Linked DNA regions of Homo sapiens: all the other regions are linked to region 1. The links are contacts of gene promoters, found by promoter capture Hi-C in blood cells and fetal thymus (Javierre and others, 2016). All regions are on one chromosome and are shown on one strand. The core of a region is centred on a gene start or on the middle of the fragment in contact, and the rest is flanking DNA. Distances in the headings are between cores, read along the strand shown. Region 1 holds the start of PLEKHD1 (pleckstrin homology and coiled-coil domain containing D1). Region 2 overlaps EXD2 (exonuclease 3'-5' domain containing 2). Region 3 overlaps GALNT16-AS1 (GALNT16 and EXD2 antisense RNA 1).

What was found. Contacts are between HindIII fragments. The CHiCAGO score rates a contact against its expected background, and 5 or more counts as called.
Region 2: a contact is called between a fragment that was not itself captured here and the fragment with the promoter of PLEKHD1 in region 1, in 1 of 17 cell types (M0 macrophages). The highest score is 5.1, in M0 macrophages.
Region 3: a fragment that was not itself captured here is called in contact with the fragment with the promoter of PLEKHD1 in region 1 in 7 of 17 cell types (M1 macrophages, M0 macrophages, megakaryocytes and 4 more); the score reaches 9.2 in M1 macrophages.

The regions. Positions count from the first base shown.
Region 1 is chr14:69,482,943-69,486,976 of GRCh38, forward strand. PLEKHD1 (pleckstrin homology and coiled-coil domain containing D1) reads left to right here and starts at 1,786. Exons shown (of 13, transcript NM_001161498.2): 1 at 1,786-2,172. The coding sequence starts at 2,024. The HindIII fragment of the contact is 7,160 bases long and covers 1-4,034 here.
Region 2 is chr14:69,230,672-69,234,705 of GRCh38, forward strand. EXD2 (exonuclease 3'-5' domain containing 2) reads left to right here. Exons shown (of 10, transcript NM_001193360.2): 6 at 4,029-4,034. All of the region lies in intron 2 of GALNT16-AS1 (GALNT16 and EXD2 antisense RNA 1), which reads right to left. Among named protein-coding and RNA genes, the nearest start is that of GALNT16, 27 kb to the right of the region's middle. The HindIII fragment of the contact is 6,270 bases long and covers 1-4,034 here.
Region 3 is chr14:69,247,245-69,251,278 of GRCh38, forward strand. The region is part of intron 2 of GALNT16-AS1 (GALNT16 and EXD2 antisense RNA 1); the gene reads right to left. Among named protein-coding and RNA genes, the nearest start is that of GALNT16, 11 kb to the right of the region's middle. The HindIII fragment of the contact is 1,254 bases long and covers 1,371-2,624 here.

The DNA.
Region 1 (4,034 bases), core at 536-3,035:
AAAAGAAAAGCAGGGCTCCTAAAGTGGGAAGATTTCCAAGCATTAGACCATGTGTCAGAAATAGACAAAAAATATACAGAAAATGTCCACTTTGTACTCTGGCCCCGGGCTCTCATCATCTTCCCAGTCCCACCTCCTCCCACCTGATGGAGCCAAGCCCCGGGCCCTGTGTTAAGGCTTGGCCTGAGATGTTCTGCATGGGGGCCTGAGCCATGAGAGAAGTGCAAGGAATTCAGATGGGCACTTCTTGACAGTGAGCAACAAGGGGATGCTGTCTGAGCTTGGGAACCCCAGAGGGGGTTAAGGGAAGAGTACCAGGGTGATGATTAGCTAGAGTCATAAAATGGGGAGATCTAGCATGGCCTTGGGGAACATCTAGTGGGCGTCACACATCCAAATGCCTGCAGAGGGGCCAGGCAGGTCAGACAATAGGGGATGATGGGGCCTGTGGGGATGCGCCTTTAGGCATTACATTCAAAGACTTAAGTCTACTGTGCAGAGGTGGTAAGAATGATACAAGTGGTTGTTGTTGGGGGGCTGATTGACTATAAAGGGGCATGAAGAAACTTTCTGCAGGTGATGGAAATGTTCTGTCTGTTGCTTTGGGTGGGGTTACATCTTATATACCTTCATCAAAGAAATAACTTAGATGTGTGCATTTTACCATGAAGTATACCTCAATTTAAAAACTTGGGGCAAATTCATAAAGCAATGTGGATCTGGCTCTCGGGCTAACCATTTGTAAACTTCTGTTGCAATCCGACTTCCAGAGGCGTCCTTGGCTCCTCATCTTGGAAAAGCGCGACTGCGGCGTGGTCTGGCGGGCGGCCGCTCACTGCGCGGTCTCCACGCCTGGCAGGTGGCGCGGGGCAGGCAGCTGTGCCAGCCTAGCATTTCCACCTGCCGGGAGGAGGCGGTCCCCTGGGGCCCGGCCGGCATCTCCCTGGCCTGAAAATGAGCCGGTCACCCCAAACGCCAACTCCGAAAGGAGCGGAAGCGGATGGAACAGCTGGTCCCAGGGAGCGCGGGCCAGGCGCGCAGATAAATCACGGACACACACTGCACGGATAGCTCCAGACTGGCGTTGAGTGCCAAATGCCGACACAGACACGGTCAGGTTCCAGGAAGAGAAATCCGATCCGATGCGCGCTAGGCGGCGGCGGCGGAGCACAGTGAAACCCACCTGAGGGGGAAGGGTTGGGGGGAACCCAATCTTGATGGAGCCCCTCCCCATGCGGGCACTTTGGGCACTTCCTGAAGTCCTACCTGGCCACCCGCCTGCCCGGGGCATCAGGCATCGCCACTTCACTGGGGAGAAAAGCCAGACCGCCGCAGTTCACGGAGCGGTAGGAATTGCGGTGGAATTCCAGGCCGGAGTGTGTGACCCTACGCCCTAGCTCCGTCCTCTCCTCCACCCCGAGGCGAGCAGGTGTCTGCAGGAGTGCCTCCAACCCCATTGCAAAGCGGACGTGGCCCTCGTCTCGATGTCGGCGCTGCTCGCCGAGAGGGACCCCGGGGTGGTGTTGGGCGCGCGGGGCGGGGACGGGGACGCGCTGCGGCCAAGTCCCCGGGCCCTGCGACCCGCAGGGACCTTCTGGACGCACGGAGCCCGGCCCTCCAGCCGGCGCCCGCCCTGATTGGCGCCCGAGGCCGGCCTCCCGCCGGCTCACCTGCCACTCCCAGCCAATCGGGGCCACCAGAATTGGGGCTGTCGCCGGGGGGGTGGGTGGCTAGGGCGGGAGGGGAGGAGATGCTGCCGGCCCGAGGCTGAGCCACCCTCCCCGCGGAGTTCCCGCCCGGCCCTCTGCAATCCGGAGCCCAAGCCGCCGGCTACGCGCCCTGCGCCCCCTTGGTGCCGCGTCCAGTGCCCAGCGCGCTTTGATGCTGCAGCTCCGGGCCGGGCCGCTCTGCTTCTCTGCTCGCTGGGACGCTCTCCGACGGCTCCGCCCTCGCCTCTCGCCCCGAGTCCCTGCTGACCCCGGGGAGGTGGGGTCCGGGCCGGGCACAGCCCCGCTGAGGCAGGATGTTCACGTCCAAGTCCAACTCGGTGTCGCCCTCGCCGTCCCTGGAGCAGGCTGACTCGGACGCCCTGGATATCAGCACCAAAGTGCAGCTCTACGGCGTGCTGTGGAAGAGGCCTTTCGGCAGGCCGTCGGCCAAGTGGTCCCGGCGGTGAGTGCGCCCCCGCGCCCCAAGGAGACCGCCGGGGAGAGAGCCTGGGCGTCGTTACCCCTCCCACCCCCTCCAGTCGCCGTCGTGCCTCTGCTTTCCTGTGTGACCTTGGCGTCACCCCTTTTCACTCTACACTGGCTCCCGCAGGAAAATGTGGACCATAGTCTGGGCCGGGAGAATGGAGATGGGGCCCCTGCCCTGGGGCGGTGGCAAATTCTCTATGGAATGAACCTGACCCTCGAGTGGGAATGTTGGGTGTGGGCAGAAGAGACCGTGGTCGGGGTGGGATCCCAGCTAGGTCAGATCAGGCCAGACTGAGGGGAGGCAGAAACTCCATCTCTAGCCAAAGATGCCCCCAACCCCGGGACCCCCACTGTCAATTCCATCGTCTTCACAACCCCTGACCCAGGCCGCGAGGACCGGGCCTGAGTGTCTCCCTCCCGCCAACCACCCACCCTTAAGACGGAGAGGGACCTGGCCCTTCTGAAAGGCTCAGGCTAAGGAGGGAGGAAGGGCCAGGAAGGGTGCTTGTCCATGGGGAAGTGACCTTGGCAACCCCTCCAACTGTCCCTTGAAATAATTTTTTTAAAAGTGAGCACAGGGAAGAGAGATTCTAGTGCTTCAGACGGAGGAGCTGGAAAGGAGGGAGGCAGCTGGAGTGAAGGAGGGGATAGATTGGTTCTGCCAAGGATTGATCCTCTGAAAGGGGTGGTGGAGAGAGACAGGGTAGTCCCAACCATCCTTCAGCCCCAGCTGCCTGGTCCCCAACTCAGACGCGACTCCGCGGACATCGGTAGCCACTCTCCACTTACAAATTAGCCTGGGAGGTATTGAGGGAAGAGGGAGTTCACAGCCCTGGACTTGCAGGAAGCTCCCAACTGGCTGCAGGTGCTGTGGGCCATTTTCTGGACAGTTTCCACTCTCCAGTCAATTTCAGTTCTGAGATTCACTACTGGTATGGCCTGGAGAATGCAGACCCTGTCCAGCCCTTCCGCGGAGGTGTGACCCTTCCAGGAAACCAGGGGTATCCAGATGCCCCTTCCCCATCCCACACTCTATGAGTCTGCCCCTGAGCAGAGGGGGCCTCCAATGTTCCCAGGACCACAGATCATGTGGATGTGGTAGTGGTGGGTGCTGATGTTCTGTTCTGATGAATAATTTAATGTTTCTATAAGACCGCAGAACAAATGGAGCTGTGGACAGTAGCTCACATTTTATATCTCTGGTTTCATGTTGTTTTGTTGCTTCTGACAGGTTTCTCTCTGGGATTTAATGGGATACAGGCTTCTTGAGTTCCTCCAAAGTTCAGCTTATCTCTGACCCCCTAAATGAAGGCTTGGAGCAACATGGAGTGTATTTGGGGAGCTTCCAGTATTGTGCTATGTGAGCTACAGCCCCCAGGGCCAGGAGAGCTGGGGTGGAAAGGCTGTGTGTAGATTCAAGCACAATTAGCAGAATATCTCCCCCCACCACCCATCTTTCTTCTGCCTCAGCAGCTCCAGATAGTTAATCTTTCTTTTCTATTGGGTCTGGCTGCTGTTCTGGGTCCTGTCAACCAAGACTTCTCTTGCCAGACATTTTCACCTGACAGCATCCCTAGAAAATGCTAGGTGCTTGTGACCCCCAGGGTATGTCCCCTGGTCCTCCCCTTCACCACTGCAGGTACATTGGGAAACTGGTCTCTGCACCTACAGTTGATTCCAGGGCTAGGAAGTGTCAGGAGTACAGGGCATAGGCCCCCAGCTAAAAGCACAATGGTAGTGCCAAGGAGGCTTGGAGAGGTTTAGTGTCCCCCACCCAGAGACTCCATCTTCTCCTCCATCCACTACCGTGGCCCCCAAAGCCACCCGAAACGATGCAAT
Region 2 (4,034 bases), core at 217-2,716, 250 kb before region 1:
TCTCAAATATAGTATAAGTATTGGATGGAGATGCCTTAAAATAGATTCATTCTCTGGTGATACTCCAGCTAACTGGTCTACAATAATCACTTAAATAAAGGATAAGAGTCCTGCTTTTGTTTTATTTTTGAGATGGAGTCTCACTCTGTTGCCCAAGCTGGAGTGCAGTGGTACGGTCTTGGCTCACTGCAACCTCTGCCTCCTGGGTTCAAGCAATTCTCCTGCCTCAGCCTCCTGAGTAGCTGAGATTACAGATGTGCACCACCATGCCTGGCTAATATTTTTAGATTTTCAGTAGAGATGGGGTTTCACCACGTTGGTCAGGCTGGTCTCGAACTTCTGACCTCAAGTGATCCACCCACCTCAACCTCCAGGTGTGAGCTACCGAGCCTGGCCAAGAGTCCTGATTTTTTTTGAGCATTTACTATATGTTGGGCATTTCAGAAAAAGGGATTTTTTTTATGAATACAAATGTATAATTTAAAAAAAATATAGTGTTATAAGTGTGTAGGAGTTATAACTTATTTTAAGAAGCAGTAAGTAGTTCCCTGCATTACCTTTCCCCATTCCTAATCCTTCTTCCTTCTTCTCCTCAGAGGCAACCACTTTCATTTCTTTCTGGTAATTATCATTATACTTCTAAATTACATGCATGCGTTATTCTTTCTTATTTATTTATATTATCTTTTGACATCATACTGTGGGAGATACGGTTTAGTACTCTTGCAGCTCCCCTGTCCCCGGACAAATACTTCTCTTCCCCATCCTCCCAATTTAGGTAAATCATCATTTTTATCAGGTTAATATACAGTATTTATATTATTTATAGCTGAGTCACATAGTAAACTGCAGTTACTTTTATTTCCCAGGATTAATAATTAGTATTTTGTTTGCATAGTGTTCCATGTACCTATTATTTCCACCCCAGACTCCTTATCAGAACTATGGATCTCCTCTGGGCTGGTTCAGACACACGTCAGGTCACTTACTTGTTTCATTTTCCCTTGGAGCCTTCTCTCCTAGAGCCCTCTATCATCTGGCTCCTCCCAGGACGGAGTGCACTCTAGGCCTGCTGCCCAACTCTCATCCTGGAATTTGCATTTACCATCAGCCTGGAATTCCCTTCACCTTTCTCTTTCATAGTAGATCCTCTGTTTTTTAAATTCCATGTCTTCTTCCTTTCTTGCCTTGGTGGAGTACATTCATAACAGTTTCTTGAGAAAGGGAGCATGAGCAGTAAAAAAAAAAAAAAAAAAAAAAAAAAAGTCAGTAACTGTCTTTTCTCTCAGGTGACTTAGTTTCTCCACAGATGAATCTTCTAGTATTCTATTCAAGAAGTGTAAGTCCCACTGCCTATATTCCAGTCACTGAGTGGGGGAAAGGTGCCAGTGGTTTTAACATTCAATGTGTAATCTCTCCCTTAATCCCCCTTTCTTCAGGTGACATTTTGTCCCTCCCTTCAGTTTTGCCTGGTATTACCAGGTCCAGATCCTCTGTGGTTTAACCATTATATGATTTAAACTTTTACTGTCTTTTGGGCTAGGGGAGGGATAGTTGTCTGGCCCTGTGCTGTAAAGGAGGAGATCAGGGTGTAAGTGTTCTCTATAGAGATTTCACCTTATCCTTCTGTTTCCGCCCTTGCCTTCACAGATACCTGGTGTCTCCATTCCTTATGCTTTCCTGGTCTCTGTGGCTCAAACTCATTTGAACTTAGGCTTTTTGCCATACCACTTGCATAGGCCTAGTTTCAACCTTGCTTGCCAAGTCAGTTACCACTTGTTCATCCTTGAGAAATGTTAACTGGTTTCCAAAGTAGCTACACCATTTTGTATTCCCACCAGCAGTGTATGAGGGTGTCGGGGTTCTGCATCCTTGCTGACATTTGTTATTGTCAGTCTTTTCCATTAGAGCCATCCTAGTAGGTGTGAAGCGGTATTTCATTGTGGTTTTGATTTACATTTCCCTTGTGACTAATGATGCTGGGCATCTGTTCATGTGGGTATTGGCCATTTGTATATCTTCCGTGGAGAAATGTCTATTCATACATATCCTTTGCCCATGTTTTAATTGGGTCATTTGTTATTTTATTTTTGAGTTTTAGGAATTCTTTGTATACTCTAGATCCTTTTCAGATAGATGATCTATAAAGTATTTTCTACCATTGGTTGTTTGAAGCACAATAGTTTTTAATTTTGATGAGCTCCAGTTATCAGTTTCTTTTTAAAAATCTCTTCCTTTAATTGCTTATGCTTTTGGTGTCATAGTCAAGAAATCATTGCCTCACCCAAGGTCATGATGATTGGCTCCTATATTTTCTTCTAAAAGTCATATAGTTTTAGCTCTTGCATTTAAGTCTGTGATCCATTTTGAGTTAATTTTTGTGTGTCTTGTGAGGTAGGGGTCCACATTCACTCTTTTGCATGTGGACCTCCAGTCATCCTAGTACCATTTGTTTCTTTATCATTAGAAAATAATGTGTTAGAGGGAACTCTAAAGTCTTCTCATTCAAGCACACATTCTTCTGTGGGAAACAGTCTGCTAATAGATATGTAGATTGTTGGATCTAGGTGGAAAATTTTATCCAAACTTGTTTTACTCTAAAAGTATAAATGATCCTTACTAATAGAATTATTCACTGGCTTGGTTATTAAAGGTGAAATAATAGAATTTTAAAGTCCTTACACTTTTTGTTGGGAAAAGCTATTAATTTTAGTTTTTTTAAAATTTTAGTTTTTTTTTTAAATTTAATTTAATTAATTTATTTATTTATTTTGAGATGGAGTCCCACTCTGTCGCTCAGGCTGGAGTGCAGTGGTGCGATCTCAGCTCACTGCAACTTCTGCCTCCTGGGTTCAAGCCCCAGGTTCAAGCGATTCTCCTGCCTCAGCCTTCCGAGTAGATGGGATTACAGGCGCGTGCCACCGCGCCCAGCTGATTTTTTTTATTTTTAGTAGAGATGGGGTTTCCCCATGTTGGCTGCGCTGGTCTCAAATTCCTGACCTCAAGTGATCTACCCGCCTCAGCCTCCCAAAGTGTTGGGATTACAAGCGTGAGCCACCACACCCAGCCGAATTTTAGTTTTGACCACGCTACTTTTTTTTTTTTTTTTTTTGAGATAGAGTCCTGTTCTGTCTCCTAGGCTGGAGTGCAGTGGCACGGTCTCAGCTCACTGCAATCTTCGTCTCCTGGGTTCAAGCGATTCTCCTGCCTTAGGCCTCCTGAGTAGCTGGGATTACAGGCGTCCACCACCACACCCAGCTAATTTTTGTATTTTTAGTAGAGACAGGGTTTCACCATGTTGGCCAGGCTGGTTTCGAACTCCTGACCTCAGGTGATCTGTTCGCCTTGGCCTCCTAAAGTGCTGGGATTACAGGTGTGAGCCACCATACCTGGCCCACAGTACTTTTCTTTATGACCAGCTTGCCTATCACCAGTTGCTTAGGAGAATGACTTACCACTATTAAATAAGTAAATTCCAGGAATGGGCCCTGTGACTTTGATTTGAGGCCCATGTTTGAAACCTATTTGTTTTTTTTGTTTTCAATATCATATTAATAGATATGGCAGTTCATTTCTGATTGACAGTCACACAGGCCTCTTAATGAATCATGATTTCAGCCATTCCAGAGGATGACTGCCTCCAAAGTGAATTTCATGTACTAGTTATCAGGCCTTTGTTAACTACCCTTCCCCCAAACTTGAGAGAAATCTGTCCAGCAATTTGGTAGTAGATAGAAACTTCACTGATTTATATAGGTGAGGATTTTCCAGCATTTAGAGTAAGTCATTATTTTAGCTATTTTAGTTAAAAACATAGGGAACATGAGAGTTAATCATACTATTCAATTTACTTTTGTGTAGTTTGAAAATTTTTATAATAAGAAGTTTTAAGGAAGTGTATGGTGCCCAGGTTGTCGTACATTTTGAATTAGGATCCTAAGAGTTATCTATTTCTTTGTGATTGACTTTGAAGTTTTTCTCTCTGGTTTGCCTTCCAGATTCCACTGATCTCTGACTTTTCTCTTCAGGTAATT
Region 3 (4,034 bases), core at 748-3,247, 240 kb before region 1:
GCTAGACAGACATGTGCAAAATGTAAAGTTTGCATTTTATAAGCTGCTGAAGACATTTCTTTCTATATCTCCATCCCCTATGACCTGACAGAAAATACAATTTCTAGTCCATCCTTGTGCTTAGTTTCAGTCCCAAAGTGGATTGGCTTTTCATTGTGTAACACAGATTTGTATCAAATGTGTTCATCTTGGAGCTCTTTCCACAATAATCACCTAGATCTAGACATGAGCCCCTGCTTTTACCAAATTGGGGTCCTTTTGTTGTTTGTTTCAGAAAAAGTAGGCAGCTAGCCAAACAGGAAGCTCAACTACATTTCTCTGCCCTCTCCTCGATGGACCCTAACTTTATCTAAAATTCTGAAATTTCTCCTTATATCCCATGGAATCAACTAAAGCCCTGTTGGCTGGCTTCGTTTCTTTTTAATCACGATATGTATGTTTGGCCCTGGAGGTTTGGTAAGCCTGAGCTGTTGCACATATGGCTGCCTCTGAGTTCTTGGACACAATGAGCAGGACTAAAGTTGGCTACAAAAAGGAACAGAAGATGACTTAGGTTAGTTTTTCTTTTTTAAATGTTATACAAGTGCAGAGCACTTGGCTGCCATCCCCCTCTCAGACCATCAACAGAACTTGACCTTGGCCAAGATTTTGCCTCATCCTCTCGGCATTTCAGCATAGAGTTGCGTTTCAGCCATGGAATGCTTAACCAAAAGCACATGCTGTAGTGGTGGTTTCCAAAGAGTAAGTTTTTGCAAAAAGTCCACATAATGTTTCCTCATAACAGCAGCTTTCTCTGAACCACCAACCCAACAAACCTCTAAGTGGTGATTTTTTGGCTTATTTGTCCACAAGGACTGTGATTTTTTGTTTTGTTTTTAGCAATACTTTATTAAAGTGCAGTATAAGTAACATATGATAAAGTGCACACATCTAAGAATACAACTCAATGAATTTTGACAAATGCATATATCCATATAACCACCAGGGGCTGGTGTTTTTAATATTTTGTGAAGCACCTATTCTAATGATGTACGTTTTGGGATTGGAAGGTTGTGCATTCTTCTAGCTGAGAAAATTACTATAAAACAGTAAATCCAGATCAAAATGTGATGAAGATCCACCTGCCACAGAGAAAGTATTAATAGAATATAAGGCTAGGGTGTAGGAGAAGTGGCCCAGGAAAGCCATCCATGCAAATTTTGTTTCCTTCCTACTTGAGAGGGTTGGGGATGAGAGGTCCGTCCTTCCCTGGCTCATAAGCCCATGAGTTGTGTAAAACACTGTTCAGTAAGGCAGAATATAAGTCCTCTTATATATTGAGTCCAGACAGTTTTCCCTTTTGTCACATCTAGTGGATTTGGTTATTGCAAAGCTTCATGTTTGTTTTTAGTAAGTTAATTTTTAAAAATAGGTAAAATGTGCACATAGTATAAAATTTTTAAAAAACATATAATGAAAATCGCTCCAGTCTTTCTGCCCTCCTTGAAGGCAACCAGTGTTACTATTAATTTGCATCCCTCAGAGAGATTGTATGTGTGTGTGGTTTTGTTTTGTGTTTTAATTCCCAGGTTTCTTATTTGGTCGCGAACCAATAATATTCTCCACCCCTTTGTTTCACACTTTAGGCTCTAGTTTAGGGCATTTATGCAGAAACGTTTTGGATACTGCAGCCTGAGTAGGACTACTTCTTTTTGTTCTGTACCACGAAGTTCATCCTCTATATCTGTCAGCTGGTTCAAAAGTTCATGTTTCTCACAGGATTGGCCATGGGTTGAGAATCACTGAAGCTGTGTGTTTATCATAGTGGGCCCCCTCTCTCTCTATATATATATATATATATATTTGAAATTTTCCATTAAAAATGTTCTTTAAAAACTCAGTCTTTTGTTTGTTTTAAAGTAATGCTTAGTTGCAACCTAAAAGCAAACCATAGATTAATCTCTAGACAGAACCCCCTGCCCCACCATCCAAGTCAGACATTCAGAGTTCCCAATTTGCAAATTGTGACCTAGGATGGTTATTCACCTTTACAAGCCATCCTTCTGTTTAAACATAGGATTGACTTCAAATTTATTTTGAAAAGCCAGCTTCTCTGGCAGGTAAAATTTGATTTATACACTAATTCTTTCAAGAATATGAATATCATGCACAACAGAGGGCTTATATTCTGCCTTCTTGAACAGTGTTTTACACAACTCATGGGCTTATGAGCCAGGGAAGGAAGGACCTCTCATCCCCAACCCTCTCAAGTAGGAAGGAAACAAAATTTGCATAGATGGCTTTCCTGGGCCACTTCTCATAGACCCTAGCCTCATATTTTATTAATACTTTCTCTGTGGCAGGTGGATAAGGAGTCAGGTCTTCTCCAAATTAGAACTTCCCAAAGATACACAGTCCAGAGAAAGGAGCGAGGCTGTTGGTGTTTTCCAATTCAAGTCCCGTATGGTTTCCCTAGGGCCATTTTACCCTTGATGCCCTTTCATGCTCGCTCCTTTGTCTTGCCATAGTCTAAACACCCAAGGCCTCTCAGTCATCATTAAGAATATTCCCACTGGTCAGGGAGTGCCCTTTGAGCGTGCCCTTAAGAGCAGCTGTCAGATTTGAGCAGCATCTGCTTTCTGACAAGCTTGAAAACAGGATGAAGGAAGCCATTGAGTATTTCCCAGTGGAAATGGTACCACAAGCTGCCTTTGGGACTGTGTTCAATATGCGAGGAGTTTAGTGGCCTGGCAGCTTAGGTGGGGGTGGGGGATGTAAGTGTGGGTCATTCAGGATGGAGCAGGGATCTTCCCCATCCTGAATGGTCTCAGCCATGTCATCCATGCAGGGTCCTGATGCTGGAATCCTTCCCTCTCCCTCAGCCTTCGGCTCCAGCCTTTTCTGGGCAGGGAAACAGAATGAGGCAAAATGCCTGGTGTGTTTTAAATAGATTCTTCTTGTGGCAGCCAATGAGTCCAACAGCTTGGAAGGTGAGTGACCCTTCCCGAGAGACTTATGTTGTGCCATTTCTCTTGTCCCTAGCCCCTGGAATACTGACCACCTCGACCCCTCCTGCTGTCCTCCCCTTCGACCTAAACTCCAGTGATGTTAGCCATCCTCCTGCTGCTCCCTAGATGGACTGTCTTCAGGCTTTTCTGGTTTTAGTATTTATTACACTTCCCACTTGGCTTTTTCTGTCCCCAAAGCTGATTTTCCTCGTGCTATTTGTCCACTCCACCCAGTGCACATCCCCATCTGCTGCTGCTTGTCTGACTGTCATGGCTTCCCGATGATCTTCTTGCCTCCACCTTCCCGTGGCCTGCTTGGGGACAGCCCAGCCCCACCTGGGCCTGTGTGCAGCTGGGGAGGCAGGAGAGGCTGCTCATTGCAGTGGCAAACACTGGGGCCTGCAATGTGAGGTCAGCAGTCAGTGCTCCAGCACAGCCAGGACACCCCAGATTGAGCATGGGCAGCGTGCAGAGCCATTTTCAAAAGAGTATCTTTTAGCAAAGAGAGTTAGGACTTCAGAAGACCAATGTGGCCTCTTCCCACCCTATCCACGGAGACCACTTACAAGACCTAAGCATCATGATCTCTGGATTCCCAGTAAGGGGTCATACAAAGGAAGGACATGAATATTTTTTACTTGCTAAGGGGAGATTGGCTGTGTTGATTCTGGAAAGATGTAGGGTATGGGGTATGTGAATGGACGGTAGAGGCTCCTACCTCGAACAATCTCGGTTGTGGGGCAAGTGAGAGCTCCAGACTAGGAAGCAGACCTCAGTGATGATGGCTATTCTTGGCAGTGTGGCAGTGCCATAAGTCGGTGAAACAGGTAATGGGGGGGATCAGAAATCTGAGGAGGGGCATAGAGAACATAGGACACACAAGTGATGGGCCAGCACCCATTAAAGGTTAGAATCAAAAGAGGAAGGTCAGGTGGAGGCTGGATGTCATGAGGGAAAGTTGATGAGGAGCAGGCACTGGGGAGACCAGGGCAGTGGGACCCTGCCAGAGACCCTGCAGCTCAGCTCTGCCACATGGAGGCAAGCAGT